Regions from separate parts of the Homo sapiens genome. Here region 1 is linked to region 2. The links are contacts of gene promoters, found by promoter capture Hi-C in blood cells and fetal thymus (Javierre and others, 2016). All regions are on one chromosome and are shown on one strand. Each heading gives the region's core, a stretch centred on a gene start or on the middle of the fragment in contact. The rest is flanking DNA. Distances are from core to core; before and after follow the strand shown.

What was found. Contacts are between HindIII fragments. The CHiCAGO score rates a contact against its expected background, and 5 or more counts as called.
Region 1: the fragment with the promoter of SMCO1 here is called in contact with the fragment with the promoter of MELTF in region 2 in 9 of 17 cell types (total B cells, monocytes, fetal thymus and 6 more); the score reaches 12.2 in total B cells.

Annotation. Positions count from the first base shown.
Region 1 is chr3:196,514,096-196,516,795 of GRCh38, reverse strand. It overlaps SMCO1 (single-pass membrane protein with coiled-coil domains 1), which reads left to right and starts at 1,450. Exons shown (of 3, transcript NM_001077657.3): 1 at 1,450-1,636. The coding sequence starts at 1,587. The HindIII fragment of the contact is 1,040 bases long and covers 1,429-2,468 here.
Region 2 is chr3:197,028,567-197,031,906 of GRCh38, reverse strand. MELTF (melanotransferrin) reads left to right here and starts at 2,090. Exons shown (of 16, transcript NM_005929.6): 1 at 2,090-2,253. The coding sequence starts at 2,205. RefSeq lists enhancers at 75-369, 1-673, 1,061-1,697, 1,698-2,334 and silencers at 1,868-2,357, 2,408-2,457, 2,648-2,827. The HindIII fragment of the contact is 6,273 bases long and covers 1-3,032 here.

The DNA.
Region 1 (2,700 bases), core at 201-2,700, 510 kb after region 2:
AACAGCTCACATCTGTCCAAACTCCTTACCAAGCTAGCTAGAAGCATCCCCTCTCTTATAAGCCTTATGTGCTGTCTCCCTGCTAGTATGTTCCTTGAGGACAAGGATTTCGCCTTACTTATCACTATATTACCAGTGCCTGGAATAGTGCTGCTCATCCATTCGTAGGTTTTATACATTCAATTAATATCTATGATGCTCAGTAAATATTGAATAAGTGAATAAAGTATTCAGTGAAAGAACAAATACGTGACATGGCTCTTACCAGTTTAAATGGTGTGGTTATTTTCTTTTTCTTATATGAATCTTTTGCTCAAAACATACCTACTCATTGTTTCCTGAACACATCATTTACTTTGCCACCTCTGTGATTTTGCTCACACAATTTCTCCAGTTCGTAACACCCTTAACACTCTTCTCTGATAATCAAAGACCTTGACCTTTAAGGCCAAGCCAAGTACCACCTTCAGGGTGAATATCTCCCCAAGGACCCAAGATTTCAGTGACTTAGTCTCTCACCTTCTATTATTTTTATGGTCTCTATCTACTTAGCACACATCCCATATACATTTTCTATTTAAGGATATATTCTTTCTTCCCAACTAGATTTTAAATCTCATGAAAACAGCAGTCCTATTTTATTTCCACATTTATATTCAATTCCTAATCTAATATATATATAATTATATAAAATTATATATATATTTTATATACGATATAAATTATATATTATATATAATTATATGTATAATTTTATATATAATTATATATATATATATATATATATATATATATATATATATATATCCTATCCTCTTGCCCGGGCTGGAGTGCAGTGGCATGATCATAGCTCACTGCAGCTTCGAACTCCTGGGCTCAAGCAGTCCTCCCACTTCAGCCTCTTGAGTAGCTGGGACTACAGGCATGCACCACCACTCCTGGCTAATTTTTGTATTTTTTGTGGAGACAGTCTCGCTCTGTGGCCCAGGCTGGTCTTGAATTCCTGGGCTCAAGCAATCCTCCCACCTTGGCTTCCCCAAGTGCTGGGATTACAGGAGTGAGCCACCATACCCAGCCATAACAAGTATTTAGTAGTTTCTAATGATAGTTAGATTTTTTGCTTTGATATCATCATCATAAAAGATCTGGGGCACTCTTCAAACCTAATTTAGGTTGTAATTGAATAATGAAGCAGTTAAAATATGACAGTAATATTTCCATCAAACTTAATCCTATACGTTACGTTAATGTATCTGTATATACATTTACCATAATGTACACAGTCATTAATTATACATGGTTGTTGCTGTATGTTAATGTACTATGGTTCAGTTTTCAAAGGCAAATGTTATAGTGCATTCCAGGACACCTGTGTCCACGAGATAAGTTCTTTGAAACTATATTTGGATCTGCAGGCTATTAAAAGCTTCTTGTACTGAGTGACCTTTCAGGCAGAATGTAGACTGAGCGCTCCTGCTACTGCTGCCTGTTGCTGAGAGGAAGACCGCAGAAAATTCTGGATTCAAACATTTATTGCTTTTTTTGTTTTGCTTTGTTTTTGTTTTCTTTCCTTTTGCCTTCAGAAGATGAACAATGAAACCACAACCCTGATATCCTTGAAGGAGGCAATGAAAAGGTTGCTGAGGGCTATAGGGAGGGAGCAAGCATGGGTCTGCTATTCTGGGAAGATGGGTAAGAGAAGAATGAAGAATAGAAATAAAGAACTGCAGACATGCTCATTAGAATTCTGTCTCTGTGGCCGGTGCGGTGGCTCACACCTGTAATCCCAGCACACTGGGAGGCCGAGGTGGGCGGATCACAGGGTCAAGAGATTGAGACCAGCCTGGCGAACATGGTGAAACCCTGCCTCTACTAAAAATACAAAAATTACCCAGGCATGGTGGCGGGCGCCTGTAGTCCCAGCTACTTGGGAGGCTGAGGCAGGAGAATCACTTGAACCCGGGAGGTGGAGGTTGCAGTGAGCCGAGATCGTGCCACTGCACTCCAGCCTGGCAACAGAGCAAGACTCCGTCCAAAAAAAGAATTCCGTCTCTATTACAGTGGTTTAAGTCTTCCAGGCCCAAACCTATGTAAATTAACAATAAAGAAAAGTCTGCTCCCAGGTGCTGTAACTCCATTGAATGTATGCATATGCTAAATCCTAGATTTACAAAAATAAGTAAAATGTGGTTTCTGCCCTCAAGGAGCTCACAGCCTGTAGGAAAGAGAAAAGTTTGAAAAACATTTACAATTTAATGTGACTGACCTTACAATGGTGATGTTCCTAAAGGTCTATGCGAACATGAAGGGAGGATCAACCAATTTTGCCTTTGACACTAGAAAAAGGAACTCTTCATATAGGGTCATTTAAGCTGGATCTTAAAGTGCAAGTAGGAGCTTATGAGGGAGAAAAATATGGGAAGGCATTCTAGGCTGAGGAAACAGTGCATATAAGCCATATGTAAGCTTGGAACCACATAATGTATTCAAGCAGCAACTAGATGTCTCGTGTAATTGGTAACTAGGATGGGTGAGGGGACTGGTGGAAGACAGGAGCAAAGGGTGAAGGCCCTTGACTTTCCTGCTGAGGAGATCCAGTTTGCCTCTGAGTATATCACTGGGCAAGCCAGGATGACATAAACCATTTGTAATCAGTTGAGTCACAGAATCGGAATTGTGTTTTAGAAGAATGTGTCTGGA
Region 2 (3,340 bases), core at 841-3,340:
AGAAGGCTGTTTGTGGGTTAAACTACTGGCTTATTACTCTCTCATTACATCCCACCCATTTCTCTGGCACACCCAAGTATGTCCGGACCCCAGAAATGGCAGAATCCTGGCTCAAGCTGAGGCAGACTTCCCCATTCCACAAAGGTGATGCGCGTTCATGCCAACCCTGGGCCAACGGGCCCGATGTAGAATCCCTGAGAACCCAGAGGCAGCAAGTTCACTGATGAGTCACAGCTGAATGACACCCAAGAGATAAGGGAAGAACTTCATTGTGAAAGAGCCCAGCAAACCTCTTAGGTTATGGTTGTTCTCACTCCCTATCAGCGTCACGTGGAGTTTTGCCAAAGGAAGGACTTAGTCATCAAACAGATCCTGCCAGTCATCTGGTGGCTCCTGGAGTGTGCCAACTGAGCCTTTCTATCCTCGTGGTCAGGAGAACGAGGCTTGTTAAGGACTCTTCTATTTATTCCATCTTCTTAGGACAAGCCATCAGCCCCTCTAGCAAGGCTGCCTGCTAGTCCATTCGGCACCTTTGTGCAAACTAGGAAGAAGGGATCCATCTGGGGGGATGGAGAAACAGCTTCCACAGCACAAGTCCTCCAGAGCAGACAGGAGACGGAAAGTATGGCACGTCACGGCCATCATGACCTACCTTTTACATGTGGGGAACAAGCCCAGAGAGGGCGACGAACTCGCCCAGGGTCTGTAAGTCGCTGGTTTTTAAAAAGTAGAGCTCGAGTCTCCTGAAGCCCAGCCCATGTTCCTTCCCCTGATCCAGTGTGTGATAAGCAGTAGCTTCATGGCCCCATAGGAGGGAGGCCTTCCTTCCCCAGGGCGCAGAGCAAGCTCAAGGACAGACAAACTCAGAGGGATGTCTTCTCTCTCACTGTTGTACTTACCCATGTCAGAGAGAGACATCATTTCTGAGTCTCAGAGGGGCTGATGACATAAAGGTGAGGCCTAAATGGAGGCAGGTGACTAACAATGTCTTCAGTTCATTCCCCGCATCCCCAACCACATGGGGAGTGCCGCTTTTGCCCGCCTGCGACAGTGGTTCTCAACATTTGCTGTGCCCCGAAATAAAAACAGATTGTGGGCCCCGCCCCCAGAGCTGTCGATCCAGTGGGTCGGAGGTGGGGCCTGAGCACTTGCATTTCCAGCAAGTTCCAGGGTGATGCTCACGTTGCTGGCCTAGGGACCACACTGAGAACCACTGTCCTAGAAATACGGTCAACCCACCCTTTCCTCCCTCACCTTCTTCACTCTCTTCCTCCCCTTCTCCGCCTGTTTCTCCTTTTCCGCTTCCTCCAATTCCTCTCTGGTCCTCTTCTCACCTTCCAATCAGCTGGCTCTGCCACTGACTGGATGCCTGACTCGGGCAAGTCACCTCCCGTCTCTAGGCCCGAGGAGAGGCAGTCGGCTAGGCCGAGATGCCCCTGCCCGGCTCCCCCCTCGCCAGGGCGCTCGGCCTGGGCTCCCCCGTATCCCAGATCCTCTGTGCAGCTGTGGCCGAGATGCCCCTGCCCGGCTCCCCCCTCGCCAGGGCGCTCGGCCTGGGCTCCCCCGTATCCCAGATCCTCTGTGCAGCTGTGGCCGAGATGCCCCTGCCCGGCTCCCCCCTCGCCAGGGCGCTCGGCCTGGGCTCCCCCGTATCCCAGATCCTCTGTGCAGCTGTGGCCGAGATGCCCCTGCCCGGCTCCCCCCTCGCCAGGGCGCTCGGCCTGGGCTCCCCCGTATCCCAGATCCTCTGTGCAGCTGTGCTGGGAGGGAGCTGCTGCGTGAATGAGATCATCCTCCAGCTGCCCTCCAGCCCCGACTCTGGGATTCTGACCTCTCCTTCCTTCCACGTCTGAGCTTTTCTCTCTCCAGTTAGACACGGTATCTGGAGTCTTTCTAGGGCGCGAGGAGGGGAGGATACCCTGGAACGCGGGGTAGGAGGCTGAGGCGAGAGCCCCGAGCAGCGGCGCCCGGGCCCGAGCGGGAGGCCTCCAGCAGGGGGCGCGCCGGGGCCGCCCAGGGGCGGGGTCCGGGGTCGGCGGGAGGTGACCTGCGCCCCAGGGGCGTGGATTCCGCCCGGGAACTCGCGGCCGCACTTAAGGAGCTCGGGCCAGCGCGAGGGGGAGCAGGGAGGAAGCCCGGCTGCTGCGGACCTCCTCGGACCCGGACCCAGCCCCAGCCCGGCCCCAGCCAGCCCCGACGGCGCCATGCGGGGTCCGAGCGGGGCTCTGTGGCTGCTCCTGGCTCTGCGCACCGGTGAGGCCCCGCTGTGAGAGCCAAAGGCGGGCGGGGGTCCCGGGGCGCCGCGGCCCGGCTGAGCAGGTCCCGGGGCTGGAAATGTGCCTGAGCCTGCGGCTCCGGGGCAGTGAGACGGGGGAGGCAGGGGCTCGGGGTCGAGTGAGGACGGCGGAGGGAACTAGCACTGAAGCGCAGACGGGGAAGTCTGGAAGGCTTCTTGGAGGAGGCGGCCTCGAACACCCGAGGCTTCCGACGCTCCAAGGAGAAGCGCGGGCTGAGGCGTGGTGGGGAGGCCTCGGGGTGTGGAGAGGAGCTCCCGGAGGGCGGCCCCTCCCGACGGGCGCAGGAACTCAGGAAGACTTTGGGGGCTCGGAGCAGCTCTTTCTCCCGAGCCCCCGCGGGAGAAGATTCAGAGGGACTGACCGGCAGGCGCGGGAGTCCGCCCGGGGGTTTCTGGCACATGCAGGGATGGAGGTGGAGACGGAGGCCGGGTCCCCTCGCGTCGGCGCCCCGGGGAGTCAGGGCCCGGGATGGTGGGACGGGAGGCGGGACCTCGGGGAGCGGCTCGCGGGGATCGCGGGCGGCGACCGCCGAGGGGATGGAGTTCGTGGCACCGCTGTGGCCGCAGGCGACGCACTCATCAATGCAAACGATGAAGCCACCGCCACCCCCGCCCCGTCTGAACTTTGCAGTTTCCCGCCTGGGTGGTGGGGGGCTTGGAGCGCTGCGGAGGGGAGGGCAGTTCGACTTCCCAGGCCTCCGCCAGGAGTGGGGAGGGGAGGGCTGTGGCGGAAGCTTCAGTCTCGGCCCTTGGGCTGGTGGGGCTGCCACGGGAGGGTGACCTGGTTTCGGGCGGAGTCATGCGTTTCCCTCCCTCCTGCACAGGCCTCTGGCAGTGCTGGCTGGGGCAGGGTGAATGGCAGAGGAGCTCAGGCCTGAAAGTCATCGGCCCCAAGGGGCTCCAGCACCCCTTCCTCTGGGCCCCTAGCCTGGGAGCTCTCGGGGACTCTGACCCGGTCAGATCCTGAGGCATAAGCAGAAGTCCACTGAGGATGTGGGTGTCTCAGGCTCTCTACAAGGGGGTTTACTTTCAACACAGAAGGTG